4 separate regions of the Homo sapiens genome follow, and all the other regions are linked to region 2. The links are contacts of gene promoters, found by promoter capture Hi-C in human tissues and cell types (Jung and others, 2019). All regions are on one chromosome and are shown on one strand. Each heading gives the region's core, a stretch centred on a gene start or on the middle of the fragment in contact. The rest is flanking DNA. Distances are from core to core; before and after follow the strand shown.

What was found. The method cuts DNA at HindIII sites, captures the fragments that hold promoters and counts their contacts. A contact is called where the count stands out against the background at its distance.
Region 1: the fragment with the promoter of NDUFAF1 here is called in contact with the fragment with the promoter of JMJD7 in region 2 in 1 of the 25 tissues and cell types used here (hippocampus).
Region 3: a fragment that was not itself captured here is called in contact with the fragment with the promoter of JMJD7 in region 2 in 1 of the 25 tissues and cell types used here (dorsolateral prefrontal cortex).
Region 4: a fragment that was not itself captured here is called in contact with the fragment with the promoter of JMJD7 in region 2 in 1 of the 25 tissues and cell types used here (aorta).

What each region holds. Positions count from the first base shown.
Region 1 is chr15:41,400,192-41,406,019 of GRCh38, forward strand. It overlaps NDUFAF1 (NADH:ubiquinone oxidoreductase complex assembly factor 1), which reads right to left and starts at 2,305. Exons shown (of 5, transcript NM_016013.4): 1 at 1,953-2,305. The HindIII fragment of the contact is 27,298 bases long and covers 1-5,828 here.
Region 2 is chr15:41,824,573-41,829,929 of GRCh38, forward strand. JMJD7 (jumonji domain containing 7) reads left to right here and starts at 3,520. Exons shown (of 8, transcript NM_001114632.2): 1 at 3,520-3,616. The coding sequence starts at 3,553. MAPKBP1 (mitogen-activated protein kinase binding protein 1) reads left to right here. Exons shown (of 31, transcript NM_014994.3): 31 at 637-3,283. The coding sequence ends at 864. JMJD7-PLA2G4B (JMJD7-PLA2G4B readthrough) reads left to right here and starts at 3,520. Exons shown (of 25, transcript NM_005090.4): 1 at 3,520-3,616. The coding sequence starts at 3,553. RefSeq lists enhancers at 1,190-2,072, 3,118-3,347, 3,379-3,673 and a silencer at 3,408-3,497. The HindIII fragment of the contact is 30,158 bases long and covers 1-5,357 here.
Region 3 is chr15:41,422,571-41,427,708 of GRCh38, forward strand. The region is part of intron 1 of RTF1 (RTF1 homolog, Paf1/RNA polymerase II complex component); the gene reads left to right. Among named protein-coding and RNA genes, the nearest start is that of RTF1, 8.0 kb to the left of the region's middle. The HindIII fragment of the contact is 8,350 bases long and covers 1-5,138 here.
Region 4 is chr15:42,260,419-42,266,198 of GRCh38, forward strand. TMEM87A (transmembrane protein 87A) reads right to left here. Exons shown (of 20, transcript NM_015497.5): 4 at 3,672-3,785; 5 at 778-831; 6 at 540-584. Among named protein-coding and RNA genes, the nearest start is that of GANC, 9.9 kb to the right of the region's middle. The HindIII fragment of the contact is 5,078 bases long and covers 1-4,918 here.

The sequences.
Region 1 (5,828 bases), core at 1,055-3,554, 430 kb before region 2:
AGAAACCCCATCTCTACTAAAAATACAAAATTAGCCCGGTGTGGTGGCGCACAACTGTAGTCCCAGCTACTTGGGAGGCTAAGGCAGGAGAATAGCTTGAACAGGAGGTGGAGGTTGTGGTGAGCCAAGATCACGCCATTGCACTCCAGCCTGGGCAACAAGAGCAAAATTCCATCTCAAAAAAAAAAAAAAAAAAATAGAGATGAGGTCTTGTTATGTTGCTCAGACGAGTCTCTAACTCCTGGGTTCAAGTGATCCTCCTGCCTCAGCCTCTGGAGTACCTGGGATTACAGGCGTGAGCCACTGCACCTGATGAATACCACTCCTAATACTTTTTTTTTTCTTTTTTGAGACAGAGTCTCACTCTGTCACCCAGGCTGGAGTGCAGTGGCACGATCTCGGCTCACTGCAAGCTCCGCCTCCCGGGTTCACGCCATTCTCCTGCCTCAGCCTCGCGAGTAGCTGGGACTACAGGCGCCCGCCACCATGCCCAGCTATTTTTTTTTTTTTTTTTTTTTTGGATTTTTAATAGAGACAGGGTTTCACCGTGTTAGCCAGGATGGTCTCGATCTCCTGACCACGTGATCCACCTGCCTTGTTCTCCCAAAGTACTGTGATTACAGGTGTGAGCCACCATGCCCAGCCTACTCCTAACACTTTCATATCACCCTGATATATATTATCTCATGCCATCCACACACAAATCCTATGAAACAAGTCAGATACGTATTTCCTTTCTGTAGGATACAGACACCAATAGGTAAAATGACATTATCAATACTTTTTTTTTTTTTTGAGACGGAGTCTTGCTCTGTCACCAGGCTAGAGATCTCCGCTCACTGCAATCTCCGCCTCCTGGGTTCAAGCGATTCTCTTGTCTCAGCCTCCTGAATAGCTGGGATTACAGGCGGGCGCCACCATGCCCGGCTAATTTTTGTTTTTGTTTTTGTTTTTTCAGTAGAGATGAGGTTCCACTATGTTGGCCAGAGTGGTCTCGAACTCCTGACCTCAGGTGATCCGCCTACATGGGCCTCCTAAAGTACTGGGATTACAGGCGTCAGCCACGGCGCCCAACCTTTTTTTTTTTTTTTTTTTTTGAGATGGAGTCTCGCTCTGTCACCCAGGCTGGAGTGCAATGGCACGACCCTGGCTCACTGCAACCTCCGCCTCCCGGGTTCAAGTGCTTCTCCTGCCTCTGCCTCCCGAGTGGCTGAAATTACAGGTGCCCGCCACCATGCCCAACTTTTTTTTTTTTTTTTTTAAGACAGAGTCCAGCTCTGTCCCCCAAGTTGGAGTGCAGTTGTGCGATCTCGGCTCATTGTAACCTCCACCTCCTGGTTTCAAGCAATTCTCTTGCCTCAGTCACTGGGATTACAGGCGTGCGCCACCACGCCCAGCTAATTTTTGTATTTTTAGTAGAGACAGGGTTTCACCATGTTGGCCAGGCTGGTCTCGAACTCCTGACCTCAAGTGATCCGCCCGCCTCGGCCTCCCAAAGTGCTGGGATTACAGGCGTGAGCCACCGCGCCCAGCCGACATTATCAATAAGGTTTGTTGATAAATCAAAACCATGTAAACAGTATGTTTTCACATGTATTATAAACGTTAAGGGAACCAGGAAAAATTAACAGTTGATCTGAGGTCCCGGAATTATGGATAATATTTAAATTCCCCCGCGCCGGTTGCACTTAAATGATTTTACCTCTACACATACCGAAATTTGAGAAACAAATGATAGCTCATAAAATGTTTTCCAAACCCTCCGTAGTGTTACTTCTCTAATAATATAACTTTAATTATAAATGCTTTGTTTCATTTTTTTTTTTCTACCAGTAAACAGAAAATCTAAACTATTAACTGGACAATACCGCCCTGAGGTTGACGGTGGGTTTTGACAACACAATCCACGCAGCTAGAAGTGAGTAGAATTAGTAAAGCTATCCATGCCTTACCATGTGCCAGAAACTGCTCTAAGTGTTTCACTGACGGCTCACAACAATCCTGAGAGAGGTACTATTATTATTTCAATTATAGAGACGAAGAAACTGACGTTCCAAGGCTAATTTACCCGAGGTCACACAGGTAGTGAGTGGCAAAATTCTTCCGCCTTGGCGTATACCTCCCGCACTCACGGCCTGGCCTCCGGAGGCTAGACGGTTCGCCGCGCTGGGGAGGCCCCCTCAACCCTCAAGTGCCAGGGCTCTGTCGCCTCCCCACACCCGGGACACACCAACCGCCGGCCTGCCGCCGCTTACCTCCCCGAGCCTATAGTGTACCTTCCGCCCAGAAGCCACTTTACCCGTATAGGTCCATCTGCTTTTCCCTTCCGATGCCAAACAAGGCGTCAGAACACCAAAGTTCCGGCCGAGTACAGAAGCCCAGGAAGGACAGCAAGGACCCCGTAGCCCAGCCAACTGAGGTTTTTGGAGGTTTTTGGTCCACTTGGTCGCCAGTTGTAAGGAAGCAGTGAGAATTCAGATAAGTTTTTCGCCTCTCCTTCCTGTATCCTTTCAGGCGGCAAACTCCATCCCTGCGTCTTTTTTTTTTTTTTTTTTTTTGAGACGGATTCTCGCTCTGTCGCCCAGGCTGGAGTGCAGTGGCGCGATCTCGGCTCACTACAACCTCTGCCTCCCAGATTCAAGCGATTCTCCTGCCTCAGCCTCCCGAGTAGCTGGGATTACAGGTGCGCGCCATCATGCCCGACTAATTTTTGTATTTTTAGTAGAGACGGGGTTTCACCATGTTAGCCGGGATGATCTCGATCTCCTGACCTCGTGATCCACCCGCCTCGGCCTCCCAAAGTGCTGAGATTACAGGCGCGAGCCACCAAGCCCGGCCCCCTGCGTCTTTCAAATAGAACCCAGTTATTGCTAACGCGCCTGTATCCCTTCCTTCCTTATCTGTCGCCTCGGTCCCCACAAGAACTGCCTGAGGCCTCAAAAGGCCGATTCTGCTGGAATTGCCCCCATGAATTCTTGAGGACCACCACGCACCTGGACAGCAGCCCCTCCTACCAGCCCTTCCCGAGTCTCGCCCCACACGGTCGCCAGTTGCTCAGGGCATCTGTTTGTACCTTGTGCACACCTCTCTTAAAGCACTTTTTTTTTTTGAGACGGAGTCTCACTCTGTTGCCCAGGCTGTAGTGCAGTGGCGCGATCTGCAACCTCCGACTCCTGGGTTGGAGCAATTCTCCTGCCTCAGCCTCCCAAGTAGCTGGGATTACAGGTGTGTGCCACCACACCCGGATAATTTTTGTATTTTTAGTAGAGATGGGGTTTCGCCATGTTGGCCAGGCTGGTCTCGAAATCCTGACCTCATGATCCACCCACCTCGGCCTCCCAAAGTGCTGGTATTACAGGCGTGAGCCACCATGCCCGGCCAAAGCACTTAAACATTGTTTGTTTTTGTTTTTTTTTCTTACTGCCAGGGAAGACAGAATCAACATTGTATCTTTCACTCACTTCTCACTTCCTTTGCCACGCTGTGAGCTTTCTTGGGTCCAGACTGCGCTGTTTTTCCTTTCCCCAGAATGTACCATAGCGGCGGGAATTTAGTGCTTAGTGTGAATTTGAGAGCATATAGTTCCGTAACACCTTTGTTCTCTAAGGTTCCGAAGGAGCTCACTAAATACACTAGCCCTTTCCATGTTTTCTCCTTCACTAGTTTCCGCGCCGCCTCCTCTTCCTCAAATTCGGCTTGGCTTCTCTAGACTCTACACTTGCCCCCTCAAACCTTACCTTTCTGCCCCCATCACTGACTCTTCTATTCTCTTCCCACAACCTTTAATGCGGGCTGTCTCTCCATGGCCCATCCTGCCTCTACCTCTTTTCTAGTTTCAAATATAAGTTATCGGCCGGGCGCGGTGGTTCACGCCTGTAATCCCAGCACTTTGGGAGGCCGAGGCGGGCGGATCACAAGGTCAGGAGATCGAGACCATCCTGGCTAACACGGTGAAACCCCGTCTCTACTAAAAATACAAAAAAATTGGCCGGGCGTGCTGGCGGGCGCCTGTAGTCCCAGCTACTCAGGAGACTGAGGCAGGAGAATGGCGTGAACCCGGGAGACGGAGCTTGCAGTGAGCCGAGATCGCACCACTGCACTCCAGCCTGGGCCACAGAGCCAGACTCCGTCTCAGAAAAAGAAAAAATCGAAATGTCTTTTTGTTGTTGTTTTTTAGGAAATATCCTTGAGCAATAAAGAAAACTAAATGTCTAAAACTAAATGTGTCATTTTTCCTCCTACTAATTCCTCCTGTCTCCCTATTTCTGTAAATGGCCACATCCTTCTAGGATGGAAATGCTTGACTGTCCTTGGCTCCTCTCCTTAAAATCTTCTCTTACTGATTTTAAATCCTGTTGCATTCTCTTGCTGTTTTTGATCTTTGATCTTTTCACACCTTCTTTCCAAGCCCACTGACACGTTTCTTGTTTTTTTGGTTTTTAAAATATAGTAGCCATCCTAATGAGTGTGAAGTGGTATCTCATTTTGGTTTTGATTTGCATGTCTCTAATCATTAGTTGTTTGCTGCTTTTTTTTTTTTGAACCACAGTCTTCCTCACCCAGGCTGGAGTGCAGTGGCGTGATCTCGGCTCACTGCAACCCCCGCCTCCCGGGTTCAAGTGATTCTCCTGCCTCAGCCTCCTGAGTAGCTGGGATTAGAGGTGCATGCCACCACACCCAGCTGATTATTGTATTTTTAGCAGAGTCAGGGTTTCGTCATGTTGGCCAGGCTGGTCTCCAACTCCTGACCTCAGTTGATCCACCCACCTCGGCCATCCAAGGTGCTGGGATTACAGGCGTGAGCCACTGTGCCAGGCTGTTTGCTTAAGTATAGGAAGCCCCATATGTATTTATTACCAGTGGAGAAAGGAAGGCTGGAAGAAAGAAAAAAATATTCAAATAGAAAGGAAGGACATGACAATGCCAGGCAGAAGAAAAGGTAGAGTCACTAGGGGAAGGAAATATAGGAAATAAAGGAAGGAAATAAAGGCAAAGAGCTGAGGGGAAATGATTATGTAGGTTAACCCAACCATGTCTGTAGCACCTTCTTCCTTGGCCTCCCAGACAGTGGTAGTGGGCTCCACCAAATCTTAACTATACCTTTGTTCACAACAAAACTGAAACCCAGCCAGGCAGGGTAGCTCACACCTGTAATGCCAGCACTTTGGGAGGCCTAGTCGGGTGAATCACCTGAGATCAGGAGTTCGAGACCAGCCTGGCCAACATGGTAAAACCCTGTCTCTACTAAAAATACAAAAATTAGCCAGGGGTGGTGGCGAGCACCCGTAATCCCAGCTACTCGGGAGGCTGAGGCAGGAGAATGGCTTGAACCTGGGAGGCAGAGGTTGCAGTAAGCTGAGATCTTGCCATTGCACTCCAGCCTGGGCGACAAGAGTGAAACTCTGCCTCAAAAAAGAAAACAACAACAACAACAACAACTGAAACCCATCCAAATTAGACATGGAGACAACAGGGGACCATCTATCTATTTGTGGACATAAGGCTGACAAATGCCATAAATGATAATATGACAAAGGGAACAAAGTGAGGGAAACTAAGAGCAGGCAACTACAAAGAGAAGCCCCTGCCTAAAAGGAAATGAACAGTAAGAGCATCATTCAGAAGCCTGGGACCAGAGGACATTGAAGCTGTTCTGAATCCGAATATGAATGGGTGAAGCCCTGTAGTCCCCTATATTGCAGGCAGTGACAAAAGAGGCAGAAGTGTTGTTCAGCCCTGGCCAACCTTAGAAGGTAGCAGGATCATTTTTTGTTTGTGTGTTTGCTTGTTTTGAGATGGAGTTTTCCTCGTGTTGTCTAGGCTGGAGT
Region 2 (5,357 bases), core at 2,270-4,769:
GGTGTTAGGTGCCCCCCGGCAGGAAGGCGGGCACGTCAGTAGTGCTGGGTGTTTCGGATAACCATGTCCAGAACAGTATGCTAAGCCTCTTGTGCTGACAGGATGGCACACTCAAGAACATCTTGGGCAGCATAGGTGAGGGGGTTAGAGGCCAGGCTAGCCTCTTGTACCGGGCACCTGCGGTCATTTCTGGTTAAGAGCTGGAGACTTCCCTCAGGAGGTGAGGCCTGAAGAGACCACACCTCCTAGTTGGCTCAGGACAATCCCAGTTTATGTCGTTGTCCCAGTGTAATTATTAATGGCATCCTTTTTCATATCCATGAATTATTTGGCCCCCTTAGACATAGGGGACAGTCCAAGAAGGCCCAAACTTTGAAAGAGAAAGCAGATTCTGCCGGAGTTGTCATAAGGAGTTGCTTATAAGATGTAGACGGTTCTGCAATCCAATGGGTTCCTCCTTGGGCGTCACCCCCAGAGTCTGCCTGCATCCCATGTTCCCTGGCCATACATGCTGATCTTGGCGGGTAGAGTTCCCAGCTAGTCCCTTCTGAGGCAGGCTGGACCCAGGTGGGGCCCCTCCCTTTTATATGTCTGTTGACAGGCTCCTCCACCTCACTTCTGGGGGTGCTATTTCAGGTGGCTGGCTGCAAGATGCCCTCAGCAGAGCAAAGTCGGATTGCCCAGCTCCTCAGAGACACCTTCTCTTCAGTGCGACAGGAGCTGGAAGCTGTGGCTGGGGCAGTGCTGTCCAGCCCAGGCAGCAGCCCTGGGGCTGTGGGAGCCGAGCAGACACAGGCCCTGCTGGAGCAATACTCAGAACTGTTGCTTCGAGCCGTGGAACGGCGTATGGAACGCAAACTCTGAGTTCTGGAAGCCTGTCCCAAGTGAATGAATGCTCCAGCGATTCCAAACTGCAGCCCCTCTGCCCCTCACCAAAACCTGCGGGGCTGCTTGGAGTGGAAAGCAGGGAGCAGTGTTCAGAGGCAAAGCAGCCTTCCCAGCCGCTCCTCGTGGGGGGCCTGTATTTATTAATTTATTTCCCTGACTGTTGCCTCACTTCCTTGGAACTCCTGCCTCCACAGCCCCTCCAGTGGCAGGGACAGGTCTTGGGTCTTTGTCATCTTGGTGCTGTGAGAGGTAGGAGGGCAGCCTGCCCCATCTAGGAATCTGGGAAGGGCTGGCCCTCTCTTAGAAGCCATTTGAAATTACTGCAGGGATTAGCTCCCTGTGGTGGAGCATACACAGGGTACTCTGGGGTCGAGGTGAGAGGTGATGTGGTATTCAGTGCCCGTCAGCCAACTGTGGGCCTTCACCTCTACCTGCACTTCCCCTCTCACACCAGCTGCACTCCCGTGGCTGCCAGAGCAGGGTGGTTTTCCCCAATACCTGGAGCTCAGAAAGGCAGAGCCATCTGGCCCTCCAGGGTGTCCCCAGCCATCAGGAGACTTGAGTTGGTATTTGGACCTGAGCCCGCACATTCCACTCCCATTCTCCCTCCAAGAGGGGCCCAGCATTGTATTTCCCTGTGACCCCTTACTCTCCTGGCCAGAACTTGAGCCAGCTGTGGGATGTTGCTGCAGGACAGTAAGCCCTCACCTGGGCAAACATGAAGCTCTGGCCTCCTTTCCTCAGCCCCTTGTTCTTCCCTGTCCTCCACCCTGGACCCCAGCCGGCTGCTGGAGCCCAGAGGCCACCTTCTCCCTGCATCCTGAATGATGCTTAGTCAGAAGCCTGTGTTGGAACATCCCTCGTTTACGGGGCGCTGGCCTACCTCCTGAGGACCTCAGCCACAGATGAGATCACACGCATGCACGTGCACACATGTACACACACACACCTACCTGCACAGCACGCTGTTGAGTGTTGGTTGCTAGAGTATCTGGCTGGCTGCTGTGTGCCTGGTTTCCTCACATCCTGCCTCAGCTTCACCACCCTGGCTTATGTGGAACACCTATCAGGGAGCAGAAAAGGGGTGCAGTACACTAAGTGAACCCAGATTCTGGATTCTTGGTGTCCACAGCCTAGCTGATACGAGATAGCCCATAGGACACCTGGTTTAGGTAGAAGGAGCCTCCTCAAAGGCAGTGCTGGGCACCCACGGGTGTGCTGGATACTGGAGTTTGAGAGGAGGGAGGTGCTGGGGCCAAAGGAGACACTAGAAAAGTGGTAGATGGGACAGGTAAGTGGCAGAGGTGAGGGGATAAGTTAGAATGTAAAAGGGCAGTAATTAGGGGTGAGGGAAAGGAGATAGGGGACCCTAGGAGGTAGAGTGGGACCATGTCGTGAGGCAGTTGAAGAGTTGAGGAAAGGTTTTTCTGGGCCCTACTGCTCCCCTCTGCTGCAGGTAAGTCAGAGCAGCTTTACCACAGCTTCAGGCCACGAGAGCCCCTTCACCCGCCCTGCTGCGCCATAGGCAGAGGCTTATAAAGAAATGGGTTCTGGGCCAGGTGTGGTGGCTCAAGCCTGTAATCCCAGCACTTTGGGAGGCCGAGGCGGGTGGATCACCTGAGGTTAGGAGTTCGAGATCAGCCTGGCCAACATGGTGAAACCCTGTCTACTAAAAATAAAAAAATTAGCTGGGCGTGGTGGTGGGCGCCTGTAATCCCAGCTACTCGGGAGGTTTAGGCAGGAGAATCGCTTGAACCCTGGAGGTGGAGGTGGAGGTTGCAGTGAGCCGAGATCGCGCCATTGCACTCCAACCTAGGTGACAAAGCTACACGCCATCTCAAAAAAAAAAAAGAAAAAGGGTTACAAAAGGTTCCCAGCTCCGGGGCATCAGCCTGAGTGCGCTTGAGCTGCTCCAAACCTGGCCCTTCCCCACTCCTCTAGCATCGCCACCCGCATGGCCCTGGAACTCCCGCGGCGGCGGGGGCGGGCCCGTGCCTGCTGTGCCCCGACTTCCCACACCAGCCGCGCCCACCGCAGGTGGGACTCAGGTTCGCCCTCTGGGCCAGGTCCTTCACGAGGAGGGAGCTACCCTTCGCCAGAAGTTTGTGAGAATGTGGCCGCCCTTTTCCTGCCCTCTGCCCCATGTGGGTGGGGGGCCTCGTGGCCCGGCCGGCGCCCCGTCCCCTTCTGCATGTCTGAGGCCACCGGCAACCGCCGCCCCACTCCAGATTTGCCCCCGCCTTGTTTTGAAAGCCCCTTATTTATAACTTTTATACTTTGTGCAGGTCGCGGCGCTTCCTGCCTCATCCTCGGCTGCATGGGGCGGGGGCGCTGTTTTTAACGTGCCCGTTTGTACTGATGTATGAACTTGTCAATAAACACAATTGTTTGTTAACCCTGGGATGCCGGCCAGTGGGGCAGGCCGAAGCGGGCGCTGCCAGTCGCTCCACCGCTTCGGTGGCAGAACCCGGTGTGTGTCCAGGGGCAGGACGGGGCGGGGTGCTGGGGGTGTGGCCTGCGGCGGGTGCCTCTGGAAGGGCGGGGCGAGGGTCTGGGGGTGTGGCCTGCGGCGGGGACTCTGGGGAGGGCGGGGCGAGTGCTTGGGGTGTGGCCTGCGGCGGGGCGTCGGGGAAAGGCGGGGTCTCGGCCGGCGCTGACGCAGCCATGGCGGAGGCGGCTTTGGAAGCCGTGCGGAGCGAGTTACGAGAATTCCCGGCCGCTGCAAGGGGTGAGTGGCTCTCCCACAGGCTGCGGCGATTTCCGAACACGGGAGGGGCCCTGGGATGCCGCTGACACCGGGGGCTCGGAACCTCGTGTGTGCGACTGCCCTGAGGCCCCGCTCGGGTTGCTCTTCTGTGGCAACCTGCTTCCCTTCTCCCGTGTTCGCGCGCTCCCGCGGCTTCCTGGGTGATTCTGTTCACGTTGTTCCCAAGGCCCGGTGCCGTCTTGACCGTGGTCGCGGCGAAGCCCTGTGTTTCCTACAGTCTTGAGCAGCTTGCTGTTACCCTTGTTGAAAGCTCATCGAAGGCACACAGCTGGTGGTCGGATTCCTCCCCCACGCGCCCCACCTCCGACCTCAACTCCCTTGTCGCACTTTGGGAGGATTGCAGGCTGACCAAATGGTCCCTGGCTCTTCCCCTGCTTGGTTTTTATTCCTTTTCTTTCTTTCTCTCTTCCCTCCTTCCTTCTTTTTTCTATTTTTAAATGATTTCTTACCACTGAACAGCAACACAGGCTCATGTGTATGTGATGGGTATGTAATATACAGTGGTACGCAATGTAAATGAAGCAAGGTTTCCTCCCAGCCCCAGTTTGCATTCTTACAGAAAGATTGTTTATATCCGTGCACACACGACTTTTTACCCTTTTTTTGTACAAATAGTAGCCTGCTAAACACACTCTTCTGCACCGTGTATCTTGGAGATCATTTCACATTCCTCTACCTCAGTCTTTTTCACGTCTGTGTGCTAGTGCTGTATTCACTTAGTCATTTAGGTCATGTCCAATCCGTTGTTTTCAATAATGCTGCAACGAATACTTTGAGGATTGATTTAACAAATACTTATTCAGCATCTCTGTGTGCCAGGCTCTGTTCAGTGTGTTTGAGATACATCACTGAACAAAACAAATCTGTCTTTTACAGTCTATGTCCTGTTACATTCTAAGTGAGAACGTGGACAATCAACCACAGGTGTACTGAATGAGTACATTGTAGAGTAGAAGAAGTAGGTTAGAAGGTAAGTGCAGGCAAAGCCCTCTTTGGGAGTATGCCTGATGTGTTTAGGAAACAGTGAAGAAGCCAGTCTGCAGGAGCAGCGTCTTCTGCGCATGTGTGAGTATGTTTGTTGGTTAAATACTTTATATTTTTTGAGACAGGGTCTTACTCTGTCACACAGGCTGGAGTGCAGTGGCACGATCATAGCTCGCTGCACCTCGACCTCCCAGGTTCAAGAGATCCTCCTGCTTCAGCACCTGGGAGTAGCTGAGACTACAGGCATGCGCCACCACGCCTGGCTAATTTTTTTGAATTTTAGTAGAGACAAGGCTGGTCTCAGATTCCTCAAACAATCCTTCCACCTCAGCATTCCAAAGTTTTGGAACGCCATGGAACACATAAGCCACTGCTCCCGGCCTTGTTAAATTCTTAGCAGAGTTATGGGGTCAAAGCAATTGTTTGGATCCCTTTTGAAATTTTCTCACTTGGAAGCCCCAGGAGAGGAAAGCAGCCATTCTCTAAAGGAAATGGTGAGCAAGTAAAACAAATCCCTAATTGCAGAAGTCCAAAGGGTGAAAAAATGGCAGTTTCCATGTATTTTCAGAATCCCAGGCTGTGTGCAGTACTCACGCCTGTAATCCTAGCACTTCAGGAGACCAAGGTGGGAGGCATCTCTTGAGGCCAGGAGTTCAAGACCAGCGTGGGCAACATAGTGAGACACCATCGTGTGGTGGCATGTGCCTGTAGTCCCACC
Region 3 (5,138 bases), core at 1,415-3,914, 400 kb before region 2:
CAGTACAACTCCGTATTTATAAAAATTTTACTCTACCTTTCTAAAAAACTAAAAATTGAGCTATGTGCACACTGGGATGCTTTATTTTATAGGTTTCTTATTTAAAATGGAGATTATATTGTCATGTCCTGTTTTTCTCTGTTTATCTAACTTGAAGTAGCAATAATTAAATTTGTCTTTGAGAGAATAGGCCCCCCTAAGTATTTTCTTTTTTCTTTTTTTTGAGACGGAGTCTCGCTCTGTCACCCAGGCTGGAGTGCAGTGGCGCGATCTTGGCTCCTGCAGCCTCCGCCTCCCGGGTTCAAACAATTCTCTGCCTCAGCCTTCCGAGTAGCTTGGATTACAGGCGCACGCCACCACGTCCAGCTAATTTTTGTATTTTTAGTAGAGACGGGGTTTCACCATCTTGGCCAGGCTGGTCTTGAACTCCTGACCTCGTGATCCACCCTCCTCGGCCTCCCAAAGTGTTGGGATTACAGGCGTGAACCACCGTGCCCGGCCAGCCCTGTAAGTATTTTCTAGGAGCTGTTTTTAGATACTACATGTAAAGAATATTATTATTATAAAGTATACTTCTATAAACCTTCCCCATAAATCTTGAGAAATTTAAAAGTTGTGCTTCTTGTTAATGTAGTGTTTTCCGCATTAATCAGAGGCAAATTTTGAAGTGTAGGAAGAGTTTGTGAGAAGTGTCAGTGTTAATTTGTGAAAACTTTAATTTGTGTCATGTTGCATCTAGCTTGATGTAATTCGCTTGTTAATTTCACTCTTTTCAAAGAGTGAGTCCCATGGGAGCTCCCTCCCCACCCAGCCCCCACCCAAGATGGAGTCTTGCTCTGTCACCCAGGCTGGAGAGCAATGGCACGCTGGGCTCACTGTAGCCTCCGCCTCTAGGTTCAAGTGATTCTCCTGCCTTAGCCTCCCGAGTAGCTGGGATGACAGGCACGCGCCACCACTCCCGGCTAATTTTACATTTTTATTAGAGATGGGGTTTCTCCATGTTGGTCAGTCTGGTCTCAAACTCCCGACCTCAGATGATCCACCCACCTCGGCCTCCCAAAGTGCTGGGATTACAGGGGTGAGCCACCACGCCCAGCCCTGGGAGCTTTAACAGTGAGGCTTTTAGGAAAAATACAAAACTGATCTTCAGACACAGGTCATATTGGTGTATTTATTTTTATTTATTTATTTATTTATTTTGAGATGGAGTCTCACTTTGTTGCCCAGGCTGGAGTGCAGTGGGACGATCTCAGCTCACTGCCACCTCCGCTTCCCGGGTTCAAGCAATTATCCTGCCTCAGCCTCCCAAGTAGCTGGGATTACAGGTATGCACCACCATGCCCGACTAATTTTTGTATTTTTAGTAGAGATGGGGTTTCACCATGTTGGCCAGGCTGGTCTCAAACTCCTGACCTCAAGTGATCCGCCCTCCTTGGCTTCCCCAGGGTGCTGGGATTTCAGGCATGAGCCACCGCATCCGGCCTGATTGTTCATCGTTCAACAGATGTATTAGACAGCGTTAGACACTAGAGCTATTGGGTGAACAAAATGGAAGCAGTTTCCACCTTCAAGGAGTGTAAAGTGGAATGAGAGAGAGATGAGGTGGGGAGATTGCTCAGAGAGAGTAATTTCCTTACAATTGCACTACAGGCCATGAAGCAAGGACAAGAATACTGTGGAAATATTAACCAGGGACCCTATTCTAGCCTGATGAGAGTGACATTGAAACAGACCTGGAATATGTGTTAAGGAGAAGCAGATTAGAAGACTGAAGAGTAAAGGGAAGAGTGTTGAATGTTCATGGTTGAGGCACCAGCATATATAAAAGAAATGAGACAGGAAGGACCTCGAACCCTTATGAAACTGAAAGAAGCACAGAGTGAGTAACATAAACTAGTTGCATAGTTGGAGAGAGAATAGTACAAATGAAACTGTAGAGGTAGATTCTGTTTTGACCCTTTGAGGATGGAGAAGTCAGTTTACGGACTACACTCAGCAGTAAAAATAAAATTGAATTGATAGAAAACATCAAATGTGTCATACATAGTAAATATAAGTGATGAAATTTGTGTGTCTCATATGTACATGTAGATGTATACTGGGTTGTGAGGTATAATTTATCTTCCTGTGGGCTGCGTTAAAAAGAGAAAAGTTTTTTGGCCAGGCGCAGTGGCTCACGCCTTTAATCCCAGCACTTTGGGAGGCCGAGGTGGGTGGATCATATGAGGCCAGGAGTTCGACCAGGCGGGCCAACATGGCGAAACCCCATCTCTAGTAAAAATACAAAAATTAGCCAAGTGCGGTGGCACACACCTGTAGTCCCAGCCACTGGTGAGGCTGAGGCATGAGAATCCCTTGAACCTAGGAGGCGGAGGTTGCAGTGAGCCGAGATCACCACTGTATTAGCCTGGGTGACAGAGAGACTCCGTCTAAAAAAAACAAAAGAAAAAAAGAAAAAAATTTAAAGCCACTGGAGGGCGTCAGCCTCCCCGGTGGCTGGGACTGCAAGTGTGTGCCACCACACTTGGCTAATTTTTGTTTTTTATTTTTGAGACGGAGTCTCGCTCTTTTGCCCAGGCCGGACTGCAGTGGCGCTGTCTCTGCCACTGCAAGCTTCGCCTCCCGGGTTCATACCATTCTCCTGCCTCAGCCTCCCGAGTAGCTGGGACTATAGGCGCCTGCCACTGTGTCCGGCTAATTTTTTTTTTGTATTTTTAGTAGGCACGGGTTTCACCATGTTAGCCAGGATGGTCTTGATCTCCTGACCTCATGATCTGCCCGCCTCGGCCTCCCAAAGTGTGCTGGGATTACAGGTGTGAGCCACCGCGCCTGGCCAATTTTTGTATTTTTAGTAGAGACTTTGGAGTTTATTCTGAGAGTAATAGGAAGCCATTGAAGGATTTTAAGTTGGAGAAGATTTTCAGATTTGCCTTACCCAGACTATTGTGGAGAGTAATATGGAGGGGGACACTAATGAAGTGGCAGAGAGAGGAGTCCAGATGAGAGATGATGGAGAACATAAGTTCCATTAGAATGGAAGCGCCAGGAGGGTAACCGTATGTGTTCACTATGCTGTCCCTGGCATCTAGAGCAGTGCCTATATGCAGTTGGCACCCAGTCAGTATTTATTAAATGAAGGACTGACTTGGATTGATATGGTTGTTATAGAGATGACAGATAGTGGAATTGGTTGGACATGATGTTCAGTATGTAGAACTAAAAGGCCTTGAAGACTGAGGACTGATTAGATGTTAGGATGAGAAGAGGAGTATTTAGGATTGATGCCAGGCACTGGCATGAGATGGGGAGTGCTGGAGGAGCAGGTTTAGAGGTGAAGATCCTGCATTCAGTCTGGGATATGTGGAGTTCGAAGTGACTATGAGATGTCTAAGTGGAGACATCAAGTAGGTAGTTGAAAATAACACTTGAGGGCCAGGCACAATGGCTCATGCCTGTAATCCCAGCACTTTGGGAGGCTGAGGTGGGAGGATTGCTTGAGCTCAGGAGTTTGAGATCAGCCTAGGCAACATGATGATGAAACCTGATCTCTACAAAAAAAAAAAATTTTTTTTGGAGGTGGAGTCTCGCTCTGTTGCCTAGGCTGGAGTGCAGTGACACCATCTTGGCTCACTGCAACCTCCGCCCTGGGTTCAAGCGATTCTCGTGCCTCAGCCTCCTGAGTAGCTGGGATTACAGGCACATGCCACCATGCCCAGCTAATTTTTTTGATTGTTTGTTTTTATTTTTTTTTTTGGGATAGAGTCTCGCTCTGTCGCCCAGGGTGGAGTGCAGTGGCACGATCTCTGCTCACTGCAACCTCCCCCTCCTGGATTCAAGCGATTCTTCTGCCTCAGCCTCCCGAGTAGCTGGGACTACAGGCGTGCGCCACCATGCCTGACTAATTTTTTGTATTTTTAGTAGAGACAGGGTTTCACCATATTGGCCAGGCTGATCTCGAACTCCAGACGTCATGATCTGCCCACCTCGGCTTCCCGAACTGCTAGGATTACAAGCGTGAGCCACTGTGCCTGGCCATTTTTTTGTATTTTTAGTAGAGATGGGGTTTTTCCATGTTGGCCAGGCTGGTCTCGAACTCCTGACCTCAGGTGATCCACCCCGCCCCCCCCCCCCCCCGCCCCCCCCCCCCGCCGGCCTCCTGAAGTGTTGGGATTACAGGCGTGAGTCTACTGTGCCCAGCCGCTACATATATATGTGTGTGTGTGTGTGTGTGTGTGTGTGTGTGTGTGTGTGTGTGTAATTTTTGTTTGTTTGTTTGTTTGTTTGTTTTTTAGGCAGAGTCTCACTCTGTTGCCCAGGCTGGAGCGCAATGGTGTGATCTCGGCTCACTGCAACCTCCACCTCCCAGGTTCAAGCAATTCTCCTGCCTCAGCCTGCCAAGCAGCTGGGATTACAGGGGCCCACCACCACGCCCAGCTAATTTTTGTATTTTTAGTAGAGATAGGGTTTCACCATGTTGGCCAGGCTGGTCTTGAACTCCTGACCTCGTGATCCACCCACCTTGGCCTCCCAAAGTGCTGGGACTACAGGCATGAGCCACCATGCCTGGTCTACAAATTTTTTTTTTTTTTTTTTTTTTTTGAGACAGAGTCTTGCTCTGTTGCCCAGGCCGGAGTGCAGTGGTGCGATCTCGGCTCACTGCAAGCTCCGCCTCCCGGGTTCACGCCATTCTCCTGCCTCAGCCTCCTGAGTAGCTGGGACTACAGGCACCCGCCACCATGCCCGGCTAATTTTTTGTATTTTTAGTAGAGACGGGGTTTCACCGTGTTAGCCAGGATGGTCTGGATCTCCTGACCTCGTGATCCACCCACCCTGGCCTCCCAAAGTGCTGGGATTACAGGCGTGAGCCACTGCGCCCGGCCCTACAAAATTTTTAAAAAATTAGCTGAGTGTGGTGGCATGCGCCTGTGGTCCCAGCTATTCATTCAAAATAAAAGCTACATAAGCTGGGTGTAGTGGTGTGTGCCTGTAGTCCCAGCTACCCAGGAGGCTGAGATAGGAGGATCACCTGAGCTTAGGAGGTTGAGGCTGCAGAGAGCCATGATCACACAACTGCACTCCAGCCTGGGTGACAGTGAGACCCTGACTCAAATAATAATAACAGTAATAATAATTATGCC
Region 4 (5,780 bases), core at 1,130-3,629, 430 kb after region 2:
CATAAAGTTGTTATAAAATTAAAAACTTTAATCAGCTTTGTAAAAACCATAACCCAACATTGATAGCTGTCATCCTTCCTCTAAATTTTTAACTGGTGATGTTTTGAGGAATTAATTATGAATTTGAAAATAGTATCCATACAATGCATATTTATGAAAACTTAAGGCATATTTATAGCTTTAGACCTTATTTCAATTTTTCCAAACTCTCTTTCAATTATATTTTATCACAGATAATTTTAGATGAAGTTTAAGAGTTCTTATTTTTAATAAGTTTCTTCCTGTTTACAGATATTTATGGGGGGATAATTATAAAAGCAATACATGTGTACAGTAGAAAATTCAGAAAACACAAAGAAACTAAAAATCACTCATACTATCATCCAGAGATCCAACCATTTTTAACATTTTGGTCTATAGCTTCCAGATTTAACTTTCTTTTCAAATATTAGCATAGTATGGGAGAACAATTCAGAAATACACAAATTTAAGAAAACTAAAATATGTGTTCAATGCCCCAAATCCCCAAATATACTTACGGTTTTGTCTCCAATAAAGGTAAGGTTTGTTCCATTCTCCTTAGCCTTTAAACATTAAAAAAATAATAATAATTAATTCAGAACTTCTTGTTTTTAGCTGCCCAAGTTCCTGTAGCCACTGGGGAAGCCTGCTCCCCAGGTGCAGCACTCCCTCCTTAGAGATGCAGTGAGCACGGGTATCTCCTGCACCACCAAAGTTTTTACTGCACTCTCAGAAATATATAATGAAAACAATTACCTCCTGTTTTTCTCCTAAAAGAGGCAGTCGATGCATAAAATCTCCAGAAAAGGTCTATAAAAGAAACACAAAACAAAACATTAAAGGTGTGTAAATACTAGAAGAAAAGTGTAGCTCAAAATACAAAGAAATGGTTAGAACAAAACACCACACCCTAACTAGTAAATATAATAACACAGCATCAGTAGACAAAACATTTCCAATTAACCACAAACAAGTGAATAAAACCCTGCTGGGAACTAGAAAATAGTATCAAACCAAAATGGCCATTCAATTTTTCTATCAGAATAATAAACATTTAAGAATGACAAAGCTTTAGATATAGGATGTATGCTTAGGATAGAAGAAGCTTAGATCATTTCCCCTCATTCTACAGATGAGTAAAATGTGGCTCAAAACTACAAAGCTTTAGACAAAGAAATAGGATTTAAACCTAATATTCTTTTTTTTTTTTTTGAGACGGAGTCTTGCTCTGTTGCACAGACTGGAGTGCAGTGGTGTTATCTCGGCTCACTGCAAGCTCCGCCTCCCAGGTTCATGCCATTCTCCTGCCTCAGCCTCCCGAATAGCTGGGACTACAGGTGCCCGCCACCATGCCTGGCTAATTTTTTTGTATTTTTAGTAGAGACAGGGTTTCACCGTGTTAGCCAGGATGGTCTCAATCTCCTGACCTCATGATCCGCCCACATCGGCCTCCCGAAGTGCTGGGACTACAGGCGTGAGCCACCGCGCCCGGCCTAAACCTAATATTCTTGATGCTTAGGTCTGCTGTCCCTTCCACCATACTACATTTTTTATGCCTGTAAAAAACTACACTAATTATCTTTCTTACCAGTTATCAGTAGATGAGGCATTGTCCTTCCTGAGTAATGAGACTGTGTAATTCAACCCTGTTACATTAGACTGGAGGAGGAGAGGAAACCTTACCAATAAGCCAAGACCCTGGAAAGATTACAGCACATCTAAAAGTAGTCAGCCTCCAGCAACCAGATGCATCAGGTAGCTTTCCATAATCAAATCCAAGAAAAGACCAACCAATCCTCCTAGTCTAAGGGATAAATTTGGAAAACCAACAGAAAACATACAAACTACACAACATCACATTGCTTCTAGCTTTCTCTACCATTCTTTCACCATCTTAAAGCTATTTTCTTTTCCCTCCAAGACCATAAAATCTAAGTTATAATAAAAGCGGAACTCTTCCTTCAATTACCAATTAATTCATCTGCTCATCAATTATCCCTTTTTTTTTTTTTTTTTTGAGACCAAGTTTCACTCTTGTCGCCCAGGCTGGAGTGCACTGACACTATCTCAGCCTCCTGGGTTCAAGTGATTCTCCCACTTCAGCCTCCCGAGTAGCTGGGATTACAGGTACCCGCCACCATGCCCGGCTAATTTTTTTGTAGAGACAGGGTTTCACCATGTTGGCCAGGCTGGTCTTGAACTCCTGACCTCAGGTGATCCGCCCACCTCGGCCTCCCAAAGTGCTGGGATTACAGGCCTGAGCCACCGCATCTGGCCTCAATTACCAATGACTAAATTTGTCTTCTTAATAATAAACTTTACTTCTAGTAATTTGACAGTTCAAGGCAAGTTGCTAAATATTCCAAAATAATTTTTAAATATAGTAAGGACAAGTATAGATGATAATTACTATAACTATTTTCAACACATATAAAATTTTTCTATCAAAAAACTGAGATTACTATTTCTAAGACAACAAAATTTGATATCAGAATCTCCACTTACATGATTGCATATGTGTAAGCACGAAAAATGTATGATTATTCACATCTCCCTCTTTCTACAAAATTAAGGTGTGAAATTGAACTCTAAGACAATGATGATACCCTTCTGATTTCAGATCTATAGAAGTAAATTTTAAAAACCCTGATTTTTCTGGGAACATATTAATTAGATGAGGAGACCAAAGAATTAAAAATGTGACGTTTTAAATGTCCATCAACAGATGAATGGAAAAACAAAATGTGGTACATACATACAATAGAACATCACTTAGCCTTAAAAAGGAATGAAATTCTGATAACGCTATAACATGGATGAACCTTAAAAACATTATGCTAAGTGGAAGAAGTCAGACAAAAAAGAACAAAAGTTGTATGATTCTATTTATATGAGGTATCTAGAATAGTCAAATTCATGGAAAGTAGAAGAGTGGTTACCATGGTCTTGGGGTTGGAAGGTGGGGAATTTTTGTTTAATAGGTATGATGTTTCAGTTTGGGATGATAAAAGTACTAGAGATGGGGCTCAGCCCGGTGGCTCACACCTGTAATCCCAGCATTTTGGGAGGCCAAGGTGGGTGGATCACTTCAGGTCAAGAGTTCAAGACCAGCCTGGCTAACATGGTGAAATCCTGTCTCTACAGAAAATACAAAAAAAATTAGCCAGGCGTAATGGTGTGAATCTGTAGCCCTAGCCACTTGGGAGGCTGAGGTGAAAGAATTGCTTAGATCCGGGTGATGGAGACTGCAGTGAGCCGAGATTGTGCCACTGCACTCCAGCCTGGCGGACAGAGCAAGAATCTGCCTTGGGGAAAAAAAAAGTACTGGAGATGGGTCGATGGCTGCACAGCAATGTGAATATATTTAATGCCACTGTATTATACACTTAGAAATGGTTAAAATGGTAAATTTTATGTAGTGTATATTTTACCACAATAAAAAAATGGGGGTTTGCTTTTTACACACAAAGCAAAGTACAACCTCTCTTTGATGAGTATGTATAAGTGGCTGACTATGTACCTATCAGAACATGCTTCCACTTACTTCTGCCAAAAGAAATACTTGAGAAGTCGGAAGTGGATACAGCCAAAAATATATACATTCCAATTTTTGCCTATTCTATTTATCTCCAATCACTTTCAAAGATTACCTGTGTTTTAAAGAGTTCACTGCAGTTCTGGAACAATTTTGATGATGTTTGATATTTCCCAGACAAGCCTCTTTTTTCCTTAAGTTTTTCCAAATACAACTCTACTTCTTCTGCCTGGAAAAAGAGATAATACAGAGTAGTTAACTCACCTTCCAAAAAATAAGATACTAAGAGCACAGCACAACAAACAGTTCACCTGCAGTACAGATACAATTTTGAGTTTGCTATTTTAAAAATGAACAGCATCAGATAAAGGCTCTATATAAAAATATCTAAGAATCAAACACTATCAGACTCAAGGACTATTAGACTCTAGTCTTTGGCTCACAAGGCATAGTTCTACTAACAATTCTGAGTAGACTGGGAAACTGCCAGAGTGTAGAGGGTTTTGTCACATTAAAATATACTTAAAAGATTTACTTGACCAAATTAACAACATCAACAAAAAAATATTCATGCTCATAAGCTAAGATAGAGCAGAAAATTGTTGCAAGCACAGAACTAGGATAATCTTCTTAAAAATGCAAATTGAGAGATAGAAACAGAATGGAAAAGGTCTGAAAAATTCAACTCAGAACTATATATATGTGTGTGTATATATATATATATATTTTTTTTTTAACTTTTATTTTAGGTTCCGGTATACATACGCAACTTTGTTATATAGGTAAACTGAACTCACAGGGAACTGTTTTACAGATTATTTCATCACCCAGGTACTGCCTAGTACTCAAGAGTTATTTTTTCTGATCCTCTCCCTCCTCCCACCCTCCACCCTCAAGTAGGCCCAGTGTCTGCCGTTCCCCTCTTTGTGATCATGTGTTCTCATCATTCAGCTCCCACTTATAAGTGAAAACGTGGTATTTCGCTTTCTGTTCCTGTGTTAGTTTGCTAAGGTTAATGGCCTCCAGCTCCTTCTGTGTTCTTGCAAAGGAAATGATCTCATTCTTTTTTATGGTTGCATATGTATCACATTCTTTTTTATGGCCGCATATGTACCACATTTATCCAGTTTACCATTGATGGGCATTTAGGTTGATTCCATGTCTTTGCTATTGTAAACAGTGCTGCAGTGAACATATATGTGCATATGTCTTTACGGTAGAATGATTTATATTACTTTGGATATATACCCAGTAATGGGATTGCTGGGTCAAATGGTAATTCTGTTTTTAGCTCTTTGAGGAATTGCCACAGTGCTTTCCACAGTGGTTGAACTAATTTACACTCCCACTAACAATGTATAAGCATTCCCTTTTCTCCACAACCTTGCCAGCATCTATTATCCTTTGACTTTCTCATAATAGCCATTCTGATGTGAGATGGTATCTCATTGTGGTTTTGATTTGCATTTCTCTAATAATCAACGATACTGAGCTTTTTTTTTTTCATATGCTTGTTGGCTGTATATCTTCTTTTGAAAAGTGTCTGTTCATGTCCTTTACCCACTTTTCTATGGGGTTGTTTTTTGCATATAAATTTGTTTAAGTTCCTTATAGAGGCTGGATATTAGACCTTTGTTGGATGCATAGTTTGCAAATATTTTCTCCCATTCTGTAGGCTGTCTACTCTATTGATAGTTTCTTTTGCTGTGCAGAAGCTCTTAAACTTAATTAGATCCCATTTGTCAATTTTTGCTTTTGTTGCAATTGCTTTTGGCGCAATTGCTTTTGGCATCTTCATCATGAAATCTTTGCCACTTCCCATGTCCAGAATGGTATTGCCTAGGTTGTCTTCCAGGGTTTTTATAGTTTTGGGTTTTACATTTAAGTCTTTAATCTATCTTGAGTTGATTTTTGAATATGGTGTGAGGAAGGGGTCCAGTTTCAATCTGCATATGGCCAGCACGCTACCGCAACACTATCTACTAAATAGGGAGTCCTTTCCCCATTGCTTGTTTTTTGTCAGCTTTGTTAAATATCAGATGGTTGTAGGTGTGCGGCCTTATTTCTGGGCTGTCTTCTCTGTTTCATTGGTCTTTGTGTCTGTTTTGGTTACTGTAGCCCTGTAGTACAGTTTGAAGTCAGGTAATGTGATGCTTCCAGCTTTATTCTTTGAGCAATATATTTTCAACGCTCAAGTATTCTAGATTATGGCAATTCTCAAAAG